Regions from separate parts of the Homo sapiens genome. Here region 2 is linked to region 1. Evidence: promoter capture Hi-C in 16 types of primary human blood cells and fetal thymus (Javierre and others, 2016). All regions are on one chromosome and are shown on one strand. Each heading gives the region's core, a stretch centred on a gene start or on the middle of the fragment in contact. The rest is flanking DNA. Distances are from core to core; before and after follow the strand shown. Region 1 overlaps GBP7 (guanylate binding protein 7). Region 2 holds the start of GBP6 (guanylate binding protein family member 6).

The links. The method cuts DNA at HindIII sites, captures the fragments that hold promoters and counts their contacts. A CHiCAGO score of 5 or more calls a contact.
Region 2: a contact is called between the fragment with the promoter of GBP6 here and a fragment that was not itself captured in region 1, in 9 of 17 cell types (total CD4 T cells, activated CD4 T cells, naive CD8 T cells and 6 more). The highest score is 11.8, in total CD4 T cells.

What each region holds. Positions count from the first base shown.
Region 1 is chr1:89,133,653-89,140,012 of GRCh38, reverse strand. The region is part of intron 9 of GBP7 (guanylate binding protein 7); the gene reads left to right. All of the region lies in intron 1 of LOC105378842 (a long non-coding RNA gene), which reads right to left. Among named protein-coding and RNA genes, the nearest start is that of GBP2, 11 kb to the right of the region's middle. The HindIII fragment of the contact is 8,826 bases long and covers 1-6,360 here.
Region 2 is chr1:89,361,485-89,367,844 of GRCh38, reverse strand. GBP6 (guanylate binding protein family member 6) reads right to left here and starts at 3,786. Exons shown (of 11, transcript NM_198460.3): 1 at 3,718-3,786. The HindIII fragment of the contact is 2,752 bases long and covers 3,328-6,079 here.

The DNA of each region.
Region 1 (6,360 bases), core at 1,111-3,610:
TAGTGCCGCAATAAACATATGTGTCCATGTGTCTTTATAGCAGCATGATTTATAATCCTTTGGGTATATACCCAGTAATGGGATGGCTGGGTCAAATGGTATTTCTAGTTCTAGATCTCTGAGGAATCGCCACACTGACTTCCACAATGGTTGAACTAGTTTACAGTCCCACCAACAGGGTAAAAGTGTTCCTATTTCTCCACATCCTCTCCAGCATCTGTTGTTTCCTGACTTTTTAATGATCGCCATTCTAACTGGTGTGAGATGGTATCTCATTGTGGTTTTGATTTGCATTTCTCTGATGGCCAGTGATGATGAGCATTTTTTCACGTGTTGTTTGGCTGCATAAATGTCTTCTTTTGAGAAGTGTCTGTTCATATCCTTCACCCACTTTTTGATGGGGTTGTTTTTTTCTTGTGAATTTGTTTGAGTTCATTGTAGATTCTGGATATTAGCCCTTTGTCAGATGAGTAGGTTGCAAAAATTTTCTCCCATTTTGTAGGTTGCCTGTTCACTCTGATGGTAGTTTCTTTTGCTGTGCAGAAGCTCTTTAGTTTAATTAAATCCCATTTGTCAATTTTGGCTTTTGTTGCCATTGCTTTTGGTGTTTTAGACATGAAGTCCTTGCCCATGCCTATGTCCTGAATGATATTGCCTAGGTTTTCTTCTAGGGTTTTTATGGTTTTAGGTCTAACATCTAAGTCTTTAATCCATCTTGAATTCATTTTTGTATAAGGTGTAAGGAAGGGATCCAGTTTCAGCTTTCTACATATGGCCAGCCAGTTTTCCCAGCACCATTTATGAAATAGGGAATCCTTTCCCCATTGCTTGTTTTTGTCAGGTTTGTCAAAGATCAGATGGTTGTAGATATGTGGCATTATTTCTGAGGGCTCTGTTCTGTTCCATTGATCTATATCTCTGTTTTGGTGTTGAGCATTTTTTCATATGCTTGCTGGCCATGTGTATGTCTTCTTGGATAAATGTCTGTTAATGTCCATTGCCCATTTTTTAATGGGGTTGTTTGCTTTGTTCTTAATTTCTTTAACTTCCTTATAGATTCTGGATATTAGACTTTTTTCAGATGCATAGTTTGCAGATATTTTCTCCCATTCTGTAGGTTGTCTGTTTACTCTGTTTATAGTTTCCTTTGTTGTGCATGAACTCTTTAGTTGAATTAGGTCCCTCTTGTTAACTTTTTGTTCGGTTGCAGTGGCTTTTGAAGTTTTCATCAGGAAATCTTTGCCAGTGCCTATGTCCAGAATGGTATTTCCTAGGTTTTCTTTTGGTGGTTTTATAGTTTTAAATTTTACATTTACATCTTTAACTCATCTTGAGTTGATTTTTGTATATAGTGAGAAGAAGGGGTCCAGTTTCAATCTTCTGCATATAGCTAGCCAGTTAACCCAGCACCATTTATTGAATAATGCATTCTTTCTCCATTGCTTTTTTTGTTAGCTTTACCAAAGATCAGATAGTTGTAGGTGTGTGGTATTATTTCTGCTTTCTTTAAACTTTTCCATTTGTTCATGTGTCTGTTTTGTTTTGTTTTGTTTTTTGACCAGCACCATGCTATTTTGGTTATTGTAGTCTTGTAATATAGTTTAAACTCAAGTCATGTGATGTCTCTGGCTTTGTTCTTTTTGCTTAGGAGTGCCTTGGCTACTCGGGGTTTTTTTGTTGTTGTTGTTCCATGTGGATGTTAGAATAGTTTTTACTAATTCTATTTTTAAAAAGTCATCGATAATTTGATAGGAATAGCATTGAATATGTAAATCAATTTGGGCAGTATGGCTATTTTAACAACATTGATTCTTCCTATCCATATGCATGAAATAATTTTCCATTTGTTTGTGCAGTCTCAGATTTCTTTCAGCAGTGTTTTATAATTCTCATTGTAGAGATGCTTCACCTCCCTGATTGGCTGTAAACCTAGGTATTTTATTCTTGGTTATTCACAATAGCTATTGTGAATAGGATTGTGTTCTCGGTTTGACTTTCAGCTTGGACATTATTGGTGTGTAGAAATGCTACTTATTTTTGTACATTTACTTTTTTATCCTGAAACTTTGCTGATGTTTATCAGATGGATGAGACTTTGGGCAGAAATTATGGAGTTTTCTAACTACAGAATTCTATTGTCTATGAAGAGAGAGAGTTTGACTTCCTCTCTTCCTATTGGATAACTTTTTTTTTCCCCTTTGCCTGATTTCTCTGGCTAGGACTTCCAGTACTATGTTGAATAAGAGTTGTTGAGAGTGGGCATCCTTGTCTGTTTTTGGTTCTCAAGTGAAATGTTTCCAGCTTTTTCACATTCAGTATGATGTTGGCTGTGGGTTTTTCATAGATGGCTTTTATTATTTTGAGGTATGTTCCTTTGAGGCCCAGTTTGTTGAGATATTTTAACATGAAATATTGAATTTTATCAAAAGCCTTTTCTGTGCCCATTGAGAAGATCATCTGGTTTTTGTTCTGAGTCCCGTTTGTGTGAGGAATCAATTTATTATTAGCATATGCTGAATCAACCTTGCATTCCAGGAATAAAGCCTAATTGACAGTGGTGGGTTCGCTTTTTAATGTGCTGCTGGATTTGGTTTGCTAGTATTTTGTTGAAGATTTTTTCATCCATGTTCATCAGGAATATTGTCCTGCATTTTTCTTTTTTTGTTGTGTCTCTGCCAGGTTTTTAAAATCAGAATGATGCTGGCCTCATAGAATGTATTAGGAAAGATTCCCTGCTCCCCATTTTTTTTGGAATAGTTTAGTAGAATTGGTACCAGCTCTTCTTTCTATGTATGGCAGAACTGACTATGACTCTGTCTGGTCTAGGGCTTTTTCTGCTTGGTAGGCTTTTTAATGCTGACCCAATTTTGGAACTTGTTATTAGTCTGTTCCAGGTTTCAATTTCTTCCTGGTTCACTTTTGGTAGGTTGTATGTTTCCAGGAATTTATCCATTTCTTCTAGGTTTCTTAGTTAGTGTGCATAGTGGTGTTCATAATAGTCTCTCAGGATTTTTTGTATTTCTGTGGAGTTGATAGCAATGTCCCTTTTGCCATTTTTTTATTGTGTTTATTTGGATCTTCTCTTTTTTTGTTCTTTTTTAGTCTAACTAGAAGTATATCCATCTTATGTATTTTTCCAGAGAACCATTGGTTTCATTGATCTTTTGTATGGTTTTTCTTGTCTCCACTTTATTCACTTCAAGTCTGATTTTGGTTATTTCTTGTCTCAGCTAGCTTTGTGCTTGGTTCACTTTTGTTTTTCTAGTTCCTCAAGGTGTAATGTTAGATTGTTAATTTGAGATATTTCTAACTTTCTACTGTAGTCGTTTAGTGCTATTAACATTCCTCTTAACACTGCTCTAGTTGTGTCTCAAAGATTCTGGTAGGTTGTATCTTTGTTTTCATTAATTTCAAATAATTTATTTCTGCCTTAAATTCACTGTTTACCCCAAAATCATTCAGAAGCAGATTAATTAATTTTCATGTAATTGTATAGCTTTGAGAGATATTCTTTGTATTGATTTCTATTTTTACAGCATTGTGGTCTGACAGCATTGGTATGATTTGGGTTTTTTTTTTATTTGTTGAGAATTGCTTTATGGCAGAGCAAGGAGTCAATTTTAGAGTATGTGCCATGTGCAGATGAGATGAATGTATATTCTGTTATTGTTGGGTGGAGTGTTCTGTAGATGTCTGTTAGGTCCATCTGGTCAAATGTCAAGTTAGGTCCTGAATATCTTCGTTAGTTTTTTGCCTCAATGATCTGTCTAATATTGTCAGTGGAGTGTTGAAGACTCCAACTATTATTGTGTGGTTATCTAAGTCTCTTCATAGGTCTCTTTGAACTTGTTTTATGAATCTAGGGTCCTCTAGTATTGGGTGCATACATATTTAGTATAATTAAGTCTTCTCGTTGAATTGAAACTTTTATCATTATGTAATGCCCATCTTTATCCTTTTTGATCATTATTGGTTTGGAGTCTGTTTTGTCTGAAATAAGAATAGCAACCCCTGCTCTTTTTGTTTTCCATTTGCTTGATAGATTTTTCTTCATCCCTTTACTTTGAGCCTATTGGTGTAATTGCATATGAGATTGGTCTCTTGAACATCGAAGACAGTTGGGTCTTATTTCTTTATGCAACTTGCCACTCTGTGCCTTTTAATTGGGGTTGTTAGCCCTTTTACAGTCAAAGTTAATATTGATATGTGTGGATTTGATCCACACTTGATTGTGTTATTGCTCTGTAGTGTCAATGATCCATGTACTGAAGTGTGCTTTTGTAGTGGCTGATAATGGTCTTTCATTTTCATGTTTAATGCTCTTTTCAGCAGCTTGAGTAAGGCAGGTCTGGTGGTAACAAATTCCCTTAGCATTTGCTTGTCTAAAAAGGATTTTTTTTTTCTTATGAACCTTAGTTTGGCTGGATATGAAATTCTTCCTTGGAATTTCTTTTCTTTACAAATGCTGAATATAGGTCCCCAGTCTCTTCTGGCTTGTAGGGTTTCTTCTGAAAGTTCCACTGTTAGCTTGATGGGATTCCCTTTGTAGAAGACCTGCCCCTTTTCTCAAGCTGCCTTTAATATTTTTTCTTTTGCACTGACCTTGGAAAATCTGATGACCATTTCATGTGTTGGGGATGGTCATCTTGTATAGGATCTCACAGGGCTTCTCTGATTTCCCGAATTTGAATGTCAACCTCTCTAGTGAGGTTGGGGAAATTTTCATGGGCATTATCCTCAAATATGTTTTCCAAATTGCTTGCTATCTCTCCCTTTCACGGGTGCCAATGAGTCATAGGTTTGGTCTCTTTATGTAATCTCATATTTCTCTGAGATTTTGTTCATTCTTTTTTATTCTTTTTTCTTTATTTTTGTTTGACTAAGTTGATTTGAAAAATGGGTTTTTGAGCTCTGAGATTATTTCCTCATCTTGGTCTATTCTACATTTAATACTCTGATTGTATTATGAAATTCTTGTAGCATGTTTTTCAGCTCTATCAAATCAGTTTGGCTCTTTTTTAAAATGGCTATTTCATCTTTTAGTTCTTGAGTCATTTTACTGAATTCCTTCAGTTCCTTGGACTGTATCTCAACTGTCTCCTAAATATCGATAATCTTCATTGCCATCCAGATTCTGAATTCCATATCTACTATTTCAGCCATTTCAGTTTGATTAGGAACTATTGCTGAGGAGCTAGTGGACTCATTTGGAGGTAAGAGACACTCTGGTTTTTTGAGTTGCCAGAGTTCTGTCCCTGTTTCTTTCTCATCTGTGTGGGCTGATATTCCTTTAGTCTTTGAAGTGTCTGTTTCTTTCATGGGGTTTTTGGCTTTTATTTTGTTTTATTCTCTTGAAGATTCAACTGGTATAAGTTGGGTTCATCTGACTGGGTTTTTTTTTTTTTTTTCTGGATGATTTCAAGGGGCCAAGGCTCAGATCAGCACTCCTGAGCTGGGGGCTTGAACCTTAGTAGGCTGGGACCAGGCCCATGGCTTTGTTCTCTGGCCCCTCTAGGTTAAGCACCTGCTGTGCTGCAGGGGCCAACTTGCTACTGGTTAACTGGCAACAACACACCGATGAGGAGTGCTGGCAAAAGTACTTTCTCAGAGCAGTGGCAGTGGGGTCCAAGGTCATTGGTGAGCAGCAGCAGCAGGGCAGTAGTGCTGCAGGTTCTGTGCATGTGCATTGGTGGTGGCAGGTTGACAGGGTCTGCACAGGTATGTGTACCAGCAAAGCGGTGGTGAGAGGCTGCAAGCGAGTGTGTGCCAGCAAAACAGTGGGGAGAGGGTGCATTGAGTGCACACTGGTGTGAGCCCATCTGCTGAAGCTCTATGATGGTTAGGTAGGGTATGTCAGCAAAGAAGATATGGTGATGGCTGCTGGGAAGTGCTTCAGTTAGGCATCTGACATTGCACTTTAAGTGGATGCAGCCAGGCAGGGACCATGAGAGAGGCTAGCAGACTGGGAGGTGCTCAGACCATACTGGATCTGTCCCACAGGCAAGATAGCCCAGTTCTATCCAGGACCAATAGTCGACAAAAGCCAAGGCCATGTATCTGGGCATGGCAAGCCTTGGGGGATGGGAGTTCCTGGTTGTGCTCCACTGCAGCCATTCCTGTGCCAAATATCTAGGCTCCACACTGGCCAGAGTCCTGTCCCTACCAAGTCTCCAAGCAGCTCTCTTTGCCAGCTCAAACATCTATGGGAGTTGTGGGGTCTCCTAAAGCTAGGATTTCAGAGGTCCATGGCAAGAGTGGGCCACTTCGCACCAATTTACCTCACCCCTTCCCCAGGAGCTGCTCAGGATTAGGAATGAGTCTTGGTGCTTGGCAACCTGTGCAAGGTTCCCAGCTTCCTCT
Region 2 (6,360 bases), core at 2,537-5,036, 230 kb before region 1:
AGTTCTCTCCCTTGAAGTGGAGGGAGCAAAGAAGACCTTATTTGTAACACACTAACCTGACTGGGAGCTACCTGTTCTGGTTTCTGTTCTGCCTACCTTGGATTTCTGGTATGTCATACACAATGATTTCTTGTGTATGATATCAAAACCACTGGAAACAAGTGAAAAAAATTAGATACACCACACTTCATCATAATTAAAAACTTTTGTGCATCAAAGAACACTATCAACAGAGTAAAAAGGCAATCTATGGAAAGGGAGAAAATATTTGCAAATCATGTTTCTGATAGAACACATAAAGAACTCCTAAAACTCAATAGCAACAATAGCCAAAAATAAAAATTCAAAAATGGATAGAGTAGACTAGACGTTTATCCAAAGAAGAAATGGCCAATAAGCACATGAAAACATGCTCAACATCATTAATCACTAGGTAAATGAAAATCAAAACTACAATGAGGTACATGTTAGACCCACCCATTAGGACTGTTATTTTTTTTAAAAAGCCCAAAACTTCAAAACTGAAAACAGGTGTTAGCTAGGATGTTGAGGATTTGGAACCTGTGTGCACTGTTCATGGAATGCAAACTGGTACTGTCACTATGAAAACAGTATGATGGTCCCTTGGAAAACCAAACATACAATTAACATTTGATCAAGCTATTCTACTTCTACATATACACTCCAAAAAATTAAAGGCAGGGACTCACACAGATATTTGTACATCAATGTTTATGGCAGCATTATGCACAATAGCCAAAAGATGAAAACAGCTCAAATGACTCTAAACAGATGAATAGATGAACAAAATGTTGTATATACCTACAATCAGCTATTATTCAGCCATAAAAATGTAGGAAATTATGACACATGCTACAACATGGATCACCTTGAAGACATTATGCCAAGTGAAATATGCCAGGCGCAAAAGAACAAATATTGTATGAGGTACTAGAATAATCAGATACATTGAGACAGAAAGTAGAAGTGTAGCTACCATGGGCTGGGGGAGGAGGGAATGCAGAATCATTGTTTAAAGGTAGAGAGTCTCAGTTTACAATGATGAAGTTCTGGAGATAGCTGCACAACTAATGTCACCGAAGTATTTTCTTAATTAGTAAAATAGTAATTTTATTATGTATATTTTACCAACAAAAAAGAGAGTAAAAGACAAAAGCCTGGATAATCGGGCAACCTATTCCTCTGTGTTATGCTACTGCAACCACTTATCTGTCAAAATAACCTACCTCAAAGACAGTGGTTATGCTATAAGGTTTTTGATCGACAACCTGCAGTAACTTTTTAATGATCATCATATACTGAAACTTGTTCTCTAATGCATCAGTGTGACCTTATATGTTTGTCTTTTATCTACAGGTTTGGAAGAGTGATGGGAATAGAAGGGAGAAGGGAAAGGATCCACTATGGGATGAGAAAACTCTAGAGAATACAGGCTATCTTTCCAAAAGGGAAGCAGGAGAATGTCCAGAATCTAAAGAATTCAAGTACAGGCTGAAATACGTAGCCTAGAAGGGTCAGGTTCTCTGCAATTTACTCCCACAGACAAGAATAAGAAAAAGAATAAGAATAACAATACATATAATATTGCATATTATTTATGGAGATAAATTATAGATATCTAGAGAGAGAGAGAAATTATGTACATACATATTAATAGATAAGTTAGAGAGATTTCTTTTTGAGAGATAAAGTCAATGTCACTTTTGGGTGAATCGAGGTGAAAGGCATATGGGATTTAATTGTAATATTTTTAGAGGTGAAGTTTAATTCCATAAATTTAGTATTGAAAGTACAATTATTCTGTAGGTCTCCTGGCACATTTTTATTGCCATTATATTAAAATGGTTTTCTATGATACCTGTATTTCCTTATAATTAGAAAAATGTAAACATAATATTGTCTTCAAATGCCTCAAATACTCAGTTTAGAATTGATATGTCAGACACTCAAGATGCATCTAATGCCACCAAAAATACCAGCTCTATCATTCACTACTTATGTGGCCTTGACCAAGGAGGTCAAGCTAGCTGAGCCTGTTAATTATAGGGGTCTGTGAGTTAAATCATACATCCAACCTGGAGGGTGTTTTGATAATAAAACGAGACATTATAAGTTTATATCTTTGCATAGCATGCACCACACAATAGGATTTCAGTAAATGTTGAATTAAATGGAGGTTACTACAATAATTACAATAACAATTGGTCCATTAGATTATATATTTCAACAAAATATACAAACTATAAGTTACTAAGAAACAAAAACTACAAATAAATTTTTCACGGAAGCAAAACTGTAAAGTTCAAGCACGCTGTTGCTGTACAACCTGCTCTTGTCTGATTCTTCACTGAGGGGAGTAAGGAAAATGGAGATCAAACACGAGGTCCTGATTTCCACAGTGAAATGCATTGTAATGTGATGTGTAACGTGTTCATCACATTACAGTGACTGCAACTGTACAGTCCCTTCTTTAAAGTGAACAATAAAGGCAGCTCTAGGAAGATGTGGCTGCTCCTGCAAACAACTTTATATAAACCAGGTCTCTGGTTTCTTAGCTGTGTGGGAACCACAGACCTTTTAACTTCTACTAAATGAAATACAGCTGTTCAATCCTATTCAGGACTGGTTTTCACACTCTGATGTACATAAGAATCACCTGATCACTCTGATGATAGTTTCTTTTGCTGTGCAGAAGCTCTTTAATTAGATCCCATTCTCAGCAAACTAACACAGGAACAGAAAACCAAAAACTGCGTGTTCTAACTGGTAAGTGGGAGTTGAACAATGAGAACATGTGGACACGGGCGGCGGGGGGTTGGCGCTGGGGGTGGGGGTGGGAAACTCACACACTGGGGCCTGTCAGTGGGTGGAGGGCAAGGGGAGGGAGAGCATTAGGACAAATACCTAATGCATGCGGGGCTTAAAACCTAGATGACGGATTGATAGGTGCAGCAAACCACCATGGGACATGGTGGTTTTTAAAAAAATCTTTTTTATTTTAAACATAGTGTCTATTCTTCATCTTTTTTTTTTTTAAAGAATCAACTGAGAGGATTGTTCAAACCCAGATTCCCAGGCCTAAGTATCCATCTGTTTAGCAAGAGCTACAAGAGACTCTGATGTTCCTATGGGAAACTAACACCCCCCTCCTCCCCCACCCCCTCCCCACACACACATACACACACACACACACACACGCACACACAGAGTTTGGACTATATAATTATTTTTAAGTAATAAAGACCAGTGATGTGGGGCCTAAGTTTATTTCTACATAGAGATTTATAGAGCTCTTATTCTGAAGCTTTCCTAAGTGTGACCACTAGAAAGATAGACAAGAAACTCTCCCTTCCGGTATAATTGCCTGGAAGCTCCTTGTTCTCTGCATTCTGGGGCTTGCCGCAGGACCTGAGAGAGATAGCCAGGCAGGCGCCCACCAGGGCTCATTCCAGGCCACTCACTGCTGTCCTGAGTTGATGATCAGGGAACAGCACATCCAGGGGGACGCGGCGTGCCCGGCTGTCACTGGTTCAAGTGGAGAAGCTGAGCTTCCCCAGAACTAAAGCCAGCCACAGACTCCTGCAGGCCAGGCAGCAGGCACCCTGCCCTTCCTGCCCATTCCTCAGTTACCACTCTGAATCAGAAACCAAGTCTTGAGTTAGGAACTAAGTTGCATTTAAAAGAAAGTGAACATACCTGCTCTATAGCACCGCAGGTCCAAGAACAGTTTTCAGTTGCCTCACTCACCTCTTGTTTTCTTTCCTCCTTTTACTTTTCTGTTCTTTCCTTTATAAAAGGAAAAAAAAGCTGAGTAAGCTAGTTGTTTCCACAAATGGGATGGTGCAGTAAAAATAAACTTGGAAGTAAAATTAATCCATGCTTTTAATAAAGTGTTAGCAGAGCCATGCCTGAATCATCCGATGTGAGTTTGAGGATGGGTGTTGGGTGCAGGGGTGGGAGGAGGTCAGAAAAAGCCACAGATACTGCACAGTCACACCTTAGCAAGCACAATCCTGCCAGCTTTCTTTTGTCTTTCCCATCTTAGAAGGCTTCACAGGCTTTCTTCTTGATACCGTTCCCAGGTGGCTTTAGTTTCCTAGGCACACAAGAAAAACAGGAAATCTACAGTAGTCACATAAGCAAAGCCTTAGAAACCAAGAATATTTTAAGCATTTTTCTCTTAGTGGGAATTCTTGAGTTCTGGGGTCTTTTGTTAGTGAAGAACTTTTGATATTTTAAATGTGTTCACACATGCACACACACACACAGAAGAGAGAGAGAGAAAGAGAGAGAGCTAAAGATATTACTGGTTTAAAAAAAGAATGAACCATGTCTTTTACAGCAACATGGATGGAACTGGAGTTCATTATCTTAGGTGAAACAACTCAGAAACCGAAAGTCAAATACCACATTCTTACTCATAAGTGGAAGCTAAAAAATCTGCATACATGGACATAGAAGGTGGAATGTGCAGTGCATAACAGTGTACAAGCTCCTATGAGAATCTAATGCTGCTGCTGATCTGACAGGAGGCAGGTCTCAGGCCTTAGTGCTCTCTCCCTACTCACCTCCTGTGTGGCCCAGTTTCTAACAGACCATGCTCTGGGGGTTTGGGACCCTTGATGTGGACTATTTATCCAACAACCCACAGTTTCCATTGGTTGAGTCTTATCCCCAGGGACTTTAACTATTTTGAATTCACAAGCTGCCCTTGGGCAAAATAGACACCCTTTCACAGCTTGGAGAAACATCTGAGTGAGAAAAGGAGAAAGACTCTCTACAGAGGACATAGCAGCATGCTGGGACTGTCTACCATGGCTGCACTGCTAAATGGATTTGAGAACAGAAGCAAGTGGCAGAATGAGCAGACATGAGTTTTGGCAATAACTTAGGCTGAGGATTTGGGGAGTGTGGTAGACTAATCTGAATACTCTATTCAGACAAAGACTTGTGTTAAAAATGTAAAATTCTGGGCCAGGTGCGGTGGCTCACTCCTGTAATCCCAGCACTTTGGGAGGCCGAGGCGGGCGGATCACGAGGTCAGGAGATCAAGACCATCCTGGCTAACAGGGGGAAACCCTGTCTCTCTCTACTAGAAATACAAAAAAATTAGCCGGGTGTGGTGGCGGGCACCTGTAGTCCCAGCTCCTCAGGAGACTGAGGCAGGAGAATGGTGTGAACCTGGGAGGCAGAGCTTGCAGTGAGCCGAGATTGTGCCACTGCACTCCAGCCTGGGCGACAGAGCGAGACTCCATCTCAAAAAAAAAGGAAAATTCTGGATTCAAAAATGTTTAATATTTTCAAAAGCAATATTAAAAATTGACTAATTTGTCATGAATGATCTTAAAGACCAAATTCCAAGGGAAGGTGAACGCCCAAAGAGTTAAGTGGAGTATTGAAGCTGTTTTTTTTCTAATAGCATTTGCCAACCAAGGGAATGTGACCTTCAGTTTGGAAGGCATTTATGAAGAGGCCAAAAGTCAAAGACCAGAGCTTGTCTAAAGTAAAGAGTCTAGTAGGAGGCCTCCTTTAGATGTTATAAGACTAAACCAGTGATTCTTAATACTTGCTGCACATAAACATCAATTGAGGTTCTCCTTAAAAACTTGAGCTCTGATCCATCACCAGAGACTCTGATTTAGTAAGTCTAGAGTTGAGGGTGAGTGTGAGTGTTTTTTTAAAGCCTCGCCCCACCTCCAGGTGGTTCCAATTGCAGTCAAGGAGGCAAAGAACTGGAGTAAATGTCGAGAGCAACTGTGAACTAGAACTAGCAGGGCAAGCAGGTTTAGGACTGGCTAGCTGGAATAATTTCAGTGGGCTCTGGGGCAGAGGGATTGTTCTTACTTTTGATATTTGGCCTTTCGGTGAGTAGGGCAGATGGATAGTGGCCCAGAGAATGAGAGCCAACAGAGAAAGTGGCGGGGTGTGGGCTCCAGGTTGGTTGGTTTGCATATGAAAGGCACACTTGCAGGAGAATCCTGTAGTATCTCTAAGAACTGGCAAGCCCAGGGAGGGTCAGTCTCTCCAGGATCAGCAAAGCCCCAAGATGTCTAAAGCTTTAGATAGGGAAACTAGAAAATGTGTTAATTATGGGGTTGCATATATTGGATGGTCCATGAAGTCAAGCCAGGAGCTTAGCACAAAACACCCAGAATAGTCAAAGTGACCTGAGAATGAAGAACAAAGCTGGAGGCATCACACTTACTGATTTCAAAATGTATAACAAATCTACAGTAATTAAGACAGTATGGAACTGGCATAAAAATAGACACATAGATGAATGAAACAGAATAGAGAGCTCAGAAATAAAATACAATATTTTGAAAATATATTGAAAAG